Linked DNA regions of Homo sapiens: all the other regions are linked to region 5. The links are contacts of gene promoters, found by promoter capture Hi-C in blood cells and fetal thymus (Javierre and others, 2016). All regions are on one chromosome and are shown on one strand. The core of a region is centred on a gene start or on the middle of the fragment in contact, and the rest is flanking DNA. Distances in the headings are between cores, read along the strand shown.

The links. Contacts are between HindIII fragments. The CHiCAGO score rates a contact against its expected background, and 5 or more counts as called.
Region 1: a fragment that was not itself captured here is called in contact with the fragment with the promoter of FAM210A in region 5 in 1 of 17 cell types (activated CD4 T cells); the score reaches 5.6 in activated CD4 T cells.
Region 2: a contact is called between a fragment that was not itself captured here and the fragment with the promoter of FAM210A in region 5, in 2 of 17 cell types (naive CD4 T cells and non-activated CD4 T cells). The highest score is 6.8, in naive CD4 T cells.
Region 3: a fragment that was not itself captured here is called in contact with the fragment with the promoter of FAM210A in region 5 in 1 of 17 cell types (naive CD4 T cells); the score reaches 5.8 in naive CD4 T cells.
Region 4: a fragment that was not itself captured here is called in contact with the fragment with the promoter of FAM210A in region 5 in 1 of 17 cell types (naive CD4 T cells); the score reaches 5.0 in naive CD4 T cells.

The regions. Positions count from the first base shown.
Region 1 is chr18:13,264,063-13,266,762 of GRCh38, forward strand. All of the region lies in intron 1 of LDLRAD4 (low density lipoprotein receptor class A domain containing 4), which reads left to right. Among named protein-coding and RNA genes, the nearest start is that of C18orf15, 26 kb to the left of the region's middle. RefSeq lists an enhancer at 1,849-2,411. The HindIII fragment of the contact is 1,318 bases long and covers 694-2,011 here.
Region 2 is chr18:13,371,931-13,374,630 of GRCh38, forward strand. All of the region lies in intron 2 of LDLRAD4 (low density lipoprotein receptor class A domain containing 4), which reads left to right. Among named protein-coding and RNA genes, the nearest start is that of LDLRAD4-AS1, 54 kb to the right of the region's middle. The HindIII fragment of the contact is 611 bases long and covers 999-1,609 here.
Region 3 is chr18:13,283,838-13,286,621 of GRCh38, forward strand. The region is part of intron 2 of LDLRAD4 (low density lipoprotein receptor class A domain containing 4); the gene reads left to right. Among named protein-coding and RNA genes, the nearest start is that of C18orf15, 46 kb to the left of the region's middle. RefSeq lists an enhancer at 2,479-2,784. The HindIII fragment of the contact is 5,261 bases long and covers 1-2,784 here.
Region 4 is chr18:13,464,105-13,466,813 of GRCh38, forward strand. All of the region lies in intron 4 of LDLRAD4 (low density lipoprotein receptor class A domain containing 4), which reads left to right. Among named protein-coding and RNA genes, the nearest start is that of MIR5190, 5.5 kb to the left of the region's middle. The HindIII fragment of the contact is 3,094 bases long and covers 1-2,709 here.
Region 5 is chr18:13,725,209-13,727,908 of GRCh38, forward strand. FAM210A (family with sequence similarity 210 member A) reads right to left here and starts at 1,350. Exons shown (of 4, transcript NM_152352.4): 1 at 1,121-1,350. RNMT (RNA guanine-7 methyltransferase) reads left to right here and starts at 1,465. Exons shown (of 12, transcript NM_003799.3): 1 at 1,465-1,521. RefSeq lists an enhancer at 528-1,453. The HindIII fragment of the contact is 3,253 bases long and covers 1,344-2,700 here.

The DNA of each region.
Region 1 (2,700 bases), core at 103-2,602, 460 kb before region 5:
GGAGCAGGGCAGGACACGACCCGGCCCTGTCCCCTCTGGTGGATTGGGCCCCACCTGTCCCTTTCCAGGCCCAGAGTTGAGCAGTTGGTTGAGTGGGTGGGTGGGTACCGTTTGAAAGAGCGAGTGGGGGCTGGTTGCGGGATGGACCTGAGTGGCTAGGATGGGTCCTTTGAGGAGGTGGCCCTGCCAGGCGGCTGCTTTACGTCAACGGCCAGTGAAGCTGGGGCTGCAGACCTGGAGGGCTTCCCAGCCCCGCCCCCGAGTTATCCTCAGAGCAGGCCTTGCTGCTCTTTCCAAAGGGTGTCTGCAGACCGTTAGACAGTTGCTTGGCCAATGTTCAACAGTGTGCAGGAAAATGCTTAGAAAGCCAGGAACGAATGGTTTCTGAAGTATTCACCATCATTCAATTCCACAGTGTCCCTTTATGAGTTTAGCTAATGGGGAGTTGACTTCTCTGTGTAGATATTCTGAGCCCGATTGCTTAGGTGATGGCATTCTTGGCAGGGAAGCCGCTAGCCTGTTTTTCGGAGTAGATGTTGTCCTGTGCTTCCTTCCCATGTGGGACTGCCATGCAGGTTGAAGACGGTTTTGTGCTTTTCTCTGCAAATGGCTGTTCTTTGGACTGTGTGAGGTGATTCTGCGTAGCCTCTCCCTTCTTCCAGGATTCTGAATCTGGATTGATTTTGTTGATGAAGCTTTCTGAGATGCATTGCTGAAAAGAGTAGTTGAAGAATGTGTCTGGAGAAAGCATATGGGTGCATTTCACAACTGTGCTGTTTCATAAAAGCGTTTCAAGTACAGTCTTCCCGAACCTGGAGGATTCGCAACTGGCCTATAAACAGACTCCAGTATTTCAAGGTTGAGGAAGACGTTGGCAAATTGATCTGTAAAATTATATAAGAGCTCTCTCTTTTCTTTTACCTGAGTTAAAGCTGAGTTGCCCAAGCCAGAACCTGGTGCTGTTCTGACCCCCTCCTGGCTCCCTGATCCATCCACTGTGTCGCCAAGGCCTGTGATTCTACCTTCTAAGTGTTTTCCACATGGCTCCTTTCCTCCCGCTGTGGTCACTGCCTTCAATTCTCAACATTTCTTGCCTGGACTTTTGCAACAGCCTCTGAACAGACTGCCCTGCCTCCAGCCTCTGCCGTCTCTCCCCTCCTCATATCCTTCCCTGCGCCTTCCAAACTCCTGGTCTAGGACCTCGTTCTGAGAACCGCCTTACCACCTAGTGGCAGGGCTGACCTGTCACTGCGTAGCTTTGAAGGTCAACGCCAAACTTACCTGTGTGGCCTGGACGGGGTCTCTGTCTCCAGCCCCCATTTCACTCAGTTCCTCCGGGGACACTCGAAGCCCTCCCCCTTCCCACTGTGCTGCCTGGAGCATGGCTTTCTCTGTCCTGCAGCACAAATGTCAGCTGCCCAGGTGAGCCCTTTTCTGGGCTCATCGCAATTTGTCAAAACGTGTGACAGGGATGAATAGCTCCATGCACCCAGGAGCAAGGCGTGCCACATCTCTTCATTTTTCTTGAGAAATAAATCTCCTTTGATCCCTGACTCACTGAGAAAGATGGGGTGGCTGATATCAGTCATCTGGGGACTGTCCTCCCCAGGCACGTTTCCGAGGACTTGTCACTCAGTCACACCTGGCCCCACTCCCCAGGGCTTCGTTGGCCATGGGTCCTGCTTGCCTGGTGCTGAGATCTTCTTCAAGGTCTGCTGAAGTCATCTCCTGTTGGGGTGGCCCTGGGACTCCACTCTGCTGCACACAGCTCAGGCCTCCAGGGGTCTTCCTCAGCCCCCTCCTCACTACTCCTGAGGTCTTTGCCCTCCCCTGGGTGGGTCCCTCTTCTCCTCCCACCCCTGAGCACTCAGCCTCCTCCTCACCCCCACGTGGATCTGCTCGATCTAGGTTTAGAGCTCTGGTTTTAAGCATCGATATGTTTAAGCATTATCTGGGGAGCTTGTTAAAAATACGGATTCCTGGACTCCACCCCAAGAGATTCTGACTCAGAAGCTTAGATGATGCCTGGCAGTGAACGTGTGTTTTAGCAAGAATGGCGGGCTCCTTGACACGGTTGTTCTGTAGTTTGGACAGTGAGTAGCACTCGCCCAGACCTTAAAAACAAAGGCTTTTTCGGGGCTTGTTTTTAGGGCTCCCCCGACTTCTTCCTGTGGACCCAGGAACACAGAAGATCATTTTGCTACAGAGTCCGCATAAGCCCTCTGCCCTCCAGCCCTGCATTCACAGCTAGCCTGGGAGCTCCTCGAGGGCAGGGCGTGGCTTCATTCCTCCTGCACAACTCCTGGTACCTCGCACTGGGTCCGTGGCCAGATGTGGGCAGGAGCAGTCTCGGGGACAACAGACACAGCCCGCTGAGGAAGGCACCCAACCCTGGGCTTGGCTTTCCTTTCCTTTCTGGCATGGGGCTCAGGTGTCCAGAGGCGGGAGGATTCCGAGGGTCTCTGGTGGCTGCCTTCTCCAGATTTGGGCTTGGACTGGGCACAGCTGGGAATCAGTTATGTTTTGTTTTGTTTTGAATTGGCATAGTGACCGTCTTAGGCAGAAGGCAGGCTGCCGCAGGGCCTCCACGCTCAGGCGCTGCCTGGCGATGGCTTCTCCGTGGAGGAGAGGGAACTGCTCTGAAGCAAGCCCAGCACCGCAGTCCTGGCCAGACCCGTGGGCAGATCCCTGGAGTCCTGT
Region 2 (2,700 bases), core at 54-2,553, 350 kb before region 5:
AGAACAGCATTAGGTTTACCCTGCTTTTACTGTGCTCTGGACCCAGCCCTTGAGTGTCTAGAGACACTCAAGCCATGGTTTCTACTTACATGGGACGGTGAGTTAAAGTTGATGATATTTAAGAGCAGTTTTAATTCCTGAATGCCATAATTCTGCTCAAATGTAAAAGGTTAGTTTACCATATATTTCATCACACTTGATCTATTGTCGAATTCACCAAGCACTGCCGTGTGCCCTTGCCAGGCATGCCATCAGAAAGGCCGGTCCCTGCCCTCAGGAAGTGCTGGCAGCCACACCCCTGTGCACCTGTTCTTCGCAGGGCAGACCTGGAGGTTGTTCCTCTCTACCACAGTTGCCTTGGGGGTACACGTAAAGGTGGTGTAGTTTTTTTCCTGGTTAGCCTTACTTTTACCTACCTTTTGAGAGGAAGAGAGGATTTGCTCGTCAGCAGTATCTTTTGCTGAACACTAAGCTAAATTCTAAGGGAAAATGCAAATAAAAACACCTTGCCCTTGAACTATTAGAAGAAATGAAAGAGACAAGATGAATGCAAGAAAAATACAGAGAACAAAACAGCACACAACAAGCAATTATTTATGTTAATTGGTGGCAGCTGTACAGAGCTGGGATGGGCGTGCTGGGAATGCTAGGCCGTCTGGGTGTCCTGGAGGTTCCTCCAGGGTGACTGAGAAACTGAAATGAGGCCAGCTCTGCAGGGTTTTTCCCCTCCCTTCCCTGAAGCTGTGGAATGGAAGTTGAATAAGACATTGCACTGAAGATGAGGAGGGTATGGTCCGGTACTCAGCACTTCATGTTCATGCTCCATGTCCTGGGCAGGGCTTGTCTGTGTTAATAAAGTTTTATTGGCATGTAGCCACACCATGTGTTTGTGTGTTGTCTGTTGGGGCTGCGTCCCTGTCTTCTCGGCAGAGCAGAGGAGCAGGGGCCGAGGCGGCATGGCCTGTGCAGAACCGTTCACCATCTGGGCCTTTGTGGGAAGCTTGCTGTCTGGGCTCCAGTTGCGTCTTCATGTAAACTCAAAGTAAACACATGTACACAATAAATATCAACAACGGATTTTCTGGCTAGGGTCTCGCAGACTAACAGATTTCAGTGGAGCTGGGTGTAAGCACATCTCTGTATTTATTCCCAATTATTTTTATCATTTTTAATGGAACTCTTAACAGCTCACACTCCTTTGGCATCCTCTACCACAACTGTTTAATGTGTGTGTGTGTGTGTGTGTGTCTTTTGAGCAAAGGCAGAAATCCCTTGTTTTGATTTCCTTTTCTCATCGCAGCAGTTGTAGCGCTCTGGCTTTATACGCTTTGAGAACCTAAAAAGCAACTGGGTCTCAACACCAACTCATGGCCTTTTTTTAAGTTTGTGTATGACATTATACACATATGTATAAATATATGTGTATTTTTGCTTCAGTGGAATGAAAATGTGCGTCACAGACTGTATGTTCAATGTTTTCTTTAGCTGCTCACAGTTATAGGATTGTGCAGAAACGCTTAGCTATCTTTGTTGCTTGTGTGCTGACTAATGAAATAATTGATTTTTCCTCTTTTGCATTTTTAGAATCAGAAGATTATTTTTTCAAGTAAGCTTATACTATAATTCAATGATTGATGGTTGAGATCTTTGCTCATATTTTCATTTTCAGAGATTAATATATGCATTTTGAAGGAGACAGTGTATTTAGTAAAACAAACTGAAATAGCTCCCCTTTTATATTTAAGCAAAATGGATAGAAAATCAGTAACTTGCTTTTGAATAGTACCTGGCAGTTTATGTGGTATTTTGCAGTTCAGTGTAGAAATAAATGCTACTTTTTTGTGACACAGCACACTTTTAGCTGAAACGTGGAGTATACTTTTACCTTGTACATTTTCATTTAGACTGGATTTTAAAGCTACCTTAGTTATTTTTTATAATAAATTCCAGAGTTTTCCAAAATTCTCTCATTTCTTTTAAAATGACACGTGTACAGTTCCATTCTTCTTTGATAATATGTCTACATTTATAAATATTTTCTAAATATTTCACATATTTCCACCATGCAAACGTGTGGAAATGTGTGAAATATTTAGAAAAAATGTGTACGTTTGATCCTCAACCACGTGGAATTTGCTTTTACCTTTTAGAGAAATCACACTTGGAGGTGATGTCATGTGTCCCTGATAATTACACGTAAATGTTGGCTGTTTTGTTACCTTCTGACCCACATAGGTCGTCTCTTGGGATAGCACAGGTAGCAGAGGATGCTGCAGAGGCCAGAGCCCTCCCAGCCCTGACCCCACACAGGCTCCTATGGAGGCCGGAGCCCTCTCAGCCCTGACCCCACACAGTCTCCTGTGGAGGCCAGAGCTGGGTCATGGACTGCAGGCTGCCGATGGGAGCAAGCTCTCATGCAGGAGTGGCTGTCTGTCCATTGTTGGTCTGTGGAGAAGGTTCTAGAGCCAAAGAACCTGGAGTCTAGAATCTCACTAATTAGATGTGGTCCCCAGCAGCATCAGCATCCCCTGGGAGCTGGTTGGAAATGCAGCCTCTTGGGCCCTGCCCCGGACCTGCTGAACCGAATCTGCAGTCACCACATCCCCGGAATTTGCAGGCACCTTAATCTCAGGAAGCTCTGGTCTGGATCTTCGCTTTCCCAGAACAGCCGTGCATCAGAATCACCTTTGGAGCTGATGA
Region 3 (2,784 bases), core at 79-2,578, 440 kb before region 5:
ATTGGACTTACAGTTCCACATGGCTGGGGAGGCCTCAGAATCGTGGCTGAGGGCAAAAGGCACTTCTTACAGGGCGGCAGCAAGGGAGAATGAGGAAGAAGCAAAAGCAGAAACAAACCTATCAGATCTCGTGAGACTAATTCACTATCACGAGAATGGCACAGGAAAGGCCCTCATAATTCAATTACCTTCCGCTGGGTCCCTCCCACGATATGTGGGAATTCTGGGAGATACAATTCAAGTTGAGATTTGGGTGGCAACACAGCCAAACCAAATCAAGGGTTAAGAGTGGCATTGAGAAAATCAGAAATGCAGCAAGGGCATCAGGGATGCCGAATGCCCTTGTTCATAGTTTGGATTAGAGAATGCCAGCCCGCAGGAAGAAAGTCCCGTGGTGGGAACACCACTTTCAGAGGTGGGAAAGAGAAACTTACCACCTCTGCCACTTCTGCCCATGGCCTGAGACCTGGGCCTCGTCTCCGCCTGCTTGTTGGATTCTGTCTTCTGTGATTAGAGTTTATTAGTTTCTCATCAAGCAGACCTGTGGAGTCATATGGGATAAATACTTTGACGCTTTGCTTTAAACTCAAATGCGCTAGCAGCTCCGTCAGTTCATGCCTAGCACAGCATTGTCAAACTGCTAAAAAGCCAGCAAATTTTCCACCTAAAATTTTGTGGGGGAGGCCAGGGTGGGGGATGTGGGGAAAAGATGTAAAAATAAACCCTCAGATTCTGGGTTGCTTGGTGGTGTGTGTATTTTTCCGTGGTGCGGGAGGTTAGAAATAGCATTGCTTTTTATGGGATTCTCAGCAGCAGCTTGAAAATTTGGCTTTGAGGATTTGGTCTCCCTGTGTGGGTGAGGTGAGTCCTCTGGTGCGGTTTGGGGGGCAGTGCACCCCAGCACCTCCCTGTCCGTTTTCCGCCTTCCTGCCCCTGCTCGAGGCCACCCGGATGAGCTGTGCTCGAGTGTGAAACACGCTTTGCCAAGGTCAGGTTCCTGAGATGACTCGCCCGTGGCAGCTGGTGCCAGTGTTAACAGACTGCATCGCAGCAGTCCCCATAAGTCACATCAGTGCATCTGTGAGGGCAGTCGCAGGGAGGGGCGTCCTTTGGGGATGTGGCATGTCGGACGGGCTGTGCCTCTCAAGCCGATGTGAGACGACCTCCCCTTGACGTCCTGACATTGGTTGGGGGCGTGGGCTGCCCTTTCAAAGAGAGTCCTGAGGGATTCTTGAAATTTGTTATATAGTTCTTACAAATGGAGGGAGGTTGCAGCGTCCCTCTCAAGTGCAGTACAGAAGCGAAATGTGAAGGAGACAGGCACTGGGACAGTGTTTGTAAGCCCCAGGGGCCCAGGGGCATCTGTGAATTCCTTGAAATGTTGCCAGTTCCTGGGGAGAATGCCAGGGCTTTGATAGGATTCTCAGGAGGGTTTTGACCTCCAGAAAGGGTTAAGAGCACTTGCAGTGGAGCACAAGGTGTGTGGTTCATTTGGCTTGGGGCAGTCACTTCAGTGATGGTCAGATTGGAGGTGTCATGAGTGGGCAGAGGGTGACATGGACAGGCTTGCCGAGGACAGTCAGGGGACAGGATTCTGTTGTCAATTGTGTAACTTAACATGGGGGCCATTGGAGGTGTCTGCTGGGCTTTTCCTTTGTAGGCTTTCTTCTTGAAATTCATATAATATTTTAAAGTTGGCGTGCTTCCTGCAGGAGGCTTCGTGGCGATGCTGGGTTAGCTTAGTGAGCTCAGTGCTTGGGAGAGGGTTCCGCTGTGCACAAGGGGTCTGGGGTCTGTCTGCTTAGCCTGACGCTTTAACAGTTTCCCTCTTTTTGTCCTGGGATCTGGTTTGCTGGGGCTGTCCACATTTTTCCATGTCTTTCTTGAAACTCGGGGGTTGTGGTAGGGAAGTCAAGGCTGCACCCTTGTTAGAGAATGGTGGGGGAAACTCAAGCCAGTCCTTCAACTCAGCTTTCACAGCACACTGTTAACTTTGTTTCTCAAACTTTTTGTCCCTTTAAAAAAAACTGTGGTAAGATATACATAATGTGGAGAAGTTGGAACCCTTCTGTGTTGCTGGAAAAAATGTAAAATGGTTCAGTTGCTATGGAAACAGTATATTTTAACCATTTTTAAGCGTACGGTTCTGTGGCATTAAGTACATTCACGTTGTGCAACCATCACCACCATCCATTTCCAGAACTCTCTCCATTTTCCCAAACCAAAACTGTGTACCCATTAAACATTAACTCTGCATTCCCTCTCCCTCCAGCCGCTGACACCCATGGTTCTACTTTCTGTCTCTATGATTTTGACTGCTCTACATACCTCATAAGTGGAATCATGCAGTATTTGTCCTTTTGTGTCTAGTGTATTTCACTTAGCATAAAGTCTTCAGGGTTCACACACATTGGAGCCTATCTCAGAATCTCCTTCCATTTTAAAGCTGACTCATATTATGTTGTCCTTGGAACAGGAAGACGAGAGCTAGAGATACAGTTGGAAAAGAAAGTTAGGGTCAAACTATAGAGTTTTGTTATTTATTTATTTTTAGAGACAGGGTCTTGCTTTGCCACCCAGGCTGGAGTGCAGTGGCACAATCATAGCTCACTGCAGCCTCAACTTACTGGTTCAAGCAATCTTCCTGCCTCAGCCTCCTGAGTAGTTGGGAATACAGGTGTGTGTCACCATGCCCAGCTAACTTTTAAAATGTTTTGTAGAGATGAGGTCTCACTATGTTGCCCGGGCTGGCCTCGACCTCCTGGCGCCATGAGGTTTTGAATG
Region 4 (2,709 bases), core at 162-2,661, 260 kb before region 5:
TACTGGGTAACAAAAAGACAAGCCTTTCAAGTACAAATGGAGCTTTGGAGATCTCTCAATTTGAAAGACTAATCTCTGCATAAACACAACTGTTTCTCCATATTGCTGGGAACACTCCATCTATCTGTTTGGCCACATTTTCTATTATGGTTTTTATAAAATGAAACGATGGCTAATAGCTCAGCAGAGAAGTATTTGGGCACAGTAGCAATAGGGATGTGTTTACATTGCTTTAAACTGTGTTGTGAGCAAAGAATAGTAATTTTCTATAGAAATTGCTCTAATCTGATCAGTAGAATTAGGCATTGCATATTTTCATTTCTGTACCTTTATCGGAGCTTATGTCAACTAATAATCTCATTTAGATACTTGGGTTTTTCATATTAAATATCTGGTTATACCTGCTATATCTTTCAGCCTCAAAACTCTTAGATCAGGTCTTCCTTTTTCTTTACACAAGTGGATAGCAGATGTGACAATACCACTGTCTGCCACAGGGAATAATTTGAGGGGCCACCGTGTGTCTAGAACCTTCCACAGGGAAGTGCACCTGAATGTGGAAAGATGGTGCCATTGCTCTTAGAAATGCCCTTTAGGGCTGACAGAGCCTGACTTTTTTTTTTTTTTTTTTCACATCGCTGTAGATGGGGCTTTTGAAACCCTCCTTCCCTTCAGCCCCCACCCCCACCCCCACCCCAAGGTTTTAGGACAAAATGGGATGAGTGAATTCATGGCTTGACAGACTGAACAGAAAAATGAGGCTCCGTGCTCCATATTCATGTGCATCTGCCCCTCATGGTGACATGCTAATTGGTTGGCCGGTGCACAAGACAAGGAAGTGCAGGTTTCCTGTTGCTCACACAGTGCTTCCTGTCTGCTGTGGCAGGAGCCGGGAGGAAGGGAGCGAGCCAAGAGGGGTGCTGCCCACCGGAAACGATGGCGCGAGGCCGCAGAGCTAAATGGGGGCCTCTCCAGGGAGTGCTCTGTTCACGGCTCCATCGCTGTTAGTAAGTATCTTGTGATTTCGGAATTTAAATGAGGTTGTGTTTAACCTGCATAACATCTGGCTTTTAAAATCTGACTTTATTTTCCTTTTATTTCTGTGCATCGGCTCAGGCACACTTAGTGGTTGCTTAGGTGTTGAAGTCAGGTTACCAAACAGCACGCCCTCTCTTTATTCTCAGGCTGCGTGTTTCATTGATTCTGAAGGTCAGATGGCTGTGTTCAAGTTCTGTTAGTATATTGGTGTCAGAAATGAAAAGATGATGTAACCCTTTATAACTTCTTAAAGGCTCATATCATGTCAGGAAATTAACCTGTAGGAGTTATGGACAAATGCCCATCCTGATGATTTTCAGCCATGAAAATGAGTAAAGGGGAGATGGGCATACGAAAGGCTGCATGTGTTGAGCATTTGATTTTGGAGGAGGATGCATTTGTTGTTTGATGGAGTCTACGACCTTGCCCTCATTCCAAAGGGCAGCCTTTGGCCCTGGGCATGCCCTCATTGGCTCACAACACCTACAAACCATACAACATTTGGCATCAGGGTTGTATCTGTTGGTGGAGGACACAACGCCAAAAGGAAATGGGATTTCCTGGTTAGGCCTGCGGCTTGGCAGATGATTGTTATGGGAAAGACACTGAGTCTGTTTAGGCAATTTCTTCCTCTTTACTAATAAAGTGTTCCTATTTTGAAAGCAATGCTGAGTTGTGGACATGTGTATAAACCGTAATGCTGTAAGTTAGGCCTCTCTTGTCTAGAATCTCAGCCTCTTCATACTCTCTCCCCCTTTTTTGCCATATTATTTTCCTTATCACTAACTATATATTTTACCTGTCTCACTTACTATCTGTCTCTCCTCTCAGAGTGTTACTCCAGGAGGGCAGAGATAACTGTTTAGTCCAGGCTGTGCCTTCGGTGCTCAAAATAATGCCTGGGTGCAAAATAAATATATCTTGAATGAAATAATGAAGTAATCTTTAAAATGGTGCTCCGAGCATAATTTTCATATAGTAACACATAGTTTGCAATTAGTTGTCTCTTTCAGGGATAATGGAATTGTTCAACATAAGAAAATCAGGCCTGGGCACGGTGGCTCAGGCCTGTAATCCCAGCACTTTGGGAGGCTGAGGTGGGCAGATCATTTGAACCCAGGAGTTCAAGACTAACCTGGGCAACATGGCAAAAGCCTGTTTCTACAAAAAATACAAAATTAGCTGGGGGTGGTGGCGGGTCCCTTTGGTCCCAGCTACTTGGGAGGCTGAGGTGGGAGGATCACCTGAGCCTAAGAGGTTGAGGCTGCAGTGAGCTGTGATCATGCCAGTGCACTCCAGCCTGGGTCACAGAGTGAGACCTTGTTTCACCAAAAAAAAAAAAAAAAGGAAAATCAAACAATATAATATACCACATTTATAGAATGAAAGAAAAAAAATGAGATCTTCTCAATAGACACAGAAAAGGCATTTGACAAACTCTTAACCTTCTTTGATTATAAAAACACACAAAAACCTAGAAATAGAAGGAACTTCTTCAACAAGATAAAAGGCATGTCCTCGTCCAGCTGGGTGCCTCTAACAAAATACCATATACGAGGTGGCCTGTAAACAACAGAGGTTTATTTCTCATTGTTCTGGAGGTCGGAAGTCTGAGATCGGGGCACCACCAGATTCTGTGTCTGGTGGGGGCCTGTTTCCTGGTTCATAGAT
Region 5 (2,700 bases), core at 100-2,599:
ATAATGCATTCGATCTGTAAGACCTACACTTTTGCAGTTGTCAATATTCATGTAATGAGATTAATTCTCAACTTACCTCATTTCATATAATAACAAATACAAGCAGTCATCAGAAATTGATGGGTCATCCTTATTTGTGAAAAATAGGCCTCATTCTTGGTTCAAAGTTTGTAACCTCAAATGGGCTAATGCCCACAATTTAGAAGTGATTAGATTGGAAAGCACAACGCTGCAAATGCTGCCTTCCCCAAAGCCAGGTCTATTCATTAATATACCTGTGCCTACTGACAAGAAGGAAGGCTGGTAAAGCACATTTTCAAAGCTGTTTTAAATGGATCAATTTTGGTAAAGAGTAATTCAAGACGGATTGTAAATCTGATCAGTTTTACAACCTTGGAAGGTGGGGACTTGACGCACGACGTTAATATGCACACGCTTCAATAATCTATCCACAGGTAGTTTTGACCCTGATCTCAGGTTGAAAGTCCTCAACTATGGAGCTTTCGAGTTTCAGTACAGTAGGCGCTTTCACTCCCCAGTAGAAATCTGGGGTGATGGCCAAAAAAAGTGTGTTGTCTCCCCCAAACCACACCATGCCAAGTTCAGCCAACGCAGACTAATGCATCCTTAGGTATTTGTCAAGAAGAGGTATAGGCGGTCCCTTTTCTCAGAATCTAACAGGTAAGAATGGCCTCTTGTGGCTTCCCAAACACGGCGGTAAGGACCAGTCTGCCAGTCCCTAATAAGAAATTGCTAATTTTAAAAACCATTCCGAACGCGGGCGCTTCCGGGCCCCTCTTCAACTGGCTTCGGAAGAAGGGGGGAGAACACGGTGAAGGGTTACAGCAAAGGAGGCTGAAAAACAGTCCCAAAGCAAGATTTGCCAGGACACTGGCTCGACCCGGAAGGGCGGGGGGACCTCTCTCGGCCGCCGGGGTCTGTGGGGTCGGCGAGTGTGGACGACCCGTCTGGCAGTCGTACACTGCCACAGCCCGAAGAGCGGCGCACGCGGAGCAGTTGCCGGGTTCGCGCCGCGAGTCAGCTCCCGGACACACGCCCAGGGTTGAAGGTGCCCTCTAGACCCCTCCCGCTGCCCCACAGAGGCCTGGGCCCATGCTACCTCTTAGGACGCTGGAGCCGCCGCCGCCGCTTCCCGCCGCGCAGGCTGGACCACAGCTCCTCGGATGCCACGGCGGTGTCACTCAGCAGAGCAGCCCGACAAAGCGTGGGTCCGCGTGCAGGAACCCGCCGGGCTCAGCCGGACGCTAGCCCCCTGCCGCCCCCGGCCCCGCCAGCCGCGCCCACTAGCAACGTGCTCGCGACCTCCAGTGCCCGCTCAGTGAAGCTTCTGCATGCCGCGCGCGGCACGTCGGGACTCGTAGTTCCGGCGCGGAGGACGTGCGTCGCGGCACTCTCGCCTGACCGTCTCCACGTGACTCTCGCACCTCCGGAAGTGACGTAAGCAGACACGCGTGGCGCGGGCCGCCGTTTCCGCAAACAGAATCGCGTTTGGCTGTGCTGGTGAGTGTGACGGCTGGAACTCCGGCCCTTCCTTTCTTTGTGTTTGTCCCTCGGCCGCCGTGGAGGGGTGGAACTGGCACTCCCACCCCTGACATGGGCTCACTTCGCATTAGCCCTGTGCTTCACTACCCAACGCGTGGGTCTATTGCCTTGTGTCCTCAGTCCCAAGGAAAATGGGAACTCCTTGGGGTGGGCGGGCGCTGTTCCTCCTCCAGACTGGGCGAGCCCGGGTGGGAGAAGCAGCTCGAAGAGCTGCTCCAGCTCGCGCCCCAGGGCCGTGCTGGGGAGGGGCGTGGGGTCCGCAGGTTTGTCTTCAGCGGCGCTTCGGAAACCTGAACCAGAGGTTGAGTAACAGGCCGCGCTAATGACGGAGGGGGTGAACTTGGCTGGAGAAGTCCCTTCTCGCCTCTGTGCGTCCTCTCGGGCCCCGTGGTAGAGGGTCAAGCGGGCGGGTCGGGACTTAGAGCTTATCCCGCTTGGGCTTTATCCCGGCGGCCCTGGCGGCCTGCTCGCTCGTACCCTGAGGAGCTGAAATGACGCAGAGACATAGCTTGCTTCGGAGGTGTGACTGGAAAGCCGGGTCGAAATGTTCGTGTGGTTATTTATCGCGTGTCCATCTCCATGTCAGTCGACCACCTTTCGAAGGTTTCTTGAAGATTCTGAGGGACAGCTCTCTTCCCTATGGAGTGTTTTCATTATTCCACTTTGAGTTTGGTTTGGGTTTTTTTTCCCCCAATTTGTTAAATTGATACATAGAAGTTGCACATATTTGCAGGTGCAGGTGATACTTTGATACATGCATACAATGTGTAACGACTAAATCAGGGCAATTGGGATATTTGTCATCTCAAACATTTATCTTTATGTTGGGAACATTCCAATTTTTCTTTTAGCTATTTTGAACTACACAATAAGTTATTGTTAACTGTGTCCACCCCACTGTACTATCAGGCACTAGATTTTATTTCTTCTGGGGTTTTTTGTACCCATTAACCAATTTCTCTTCTTCATCCCGCTCCTCTTCCTGCTACCCTTCCCAGTCTGTGGTAACCACCAATCCACTCTTTACCTCCATCAGGTCCACATTTTTAGCTCCCACATGAGTAACAACATGATATTGTCTTCATGTGCCTGGCTTATTTCAGTTAACATAATGACATCCGGTTTCATCCATGTTGT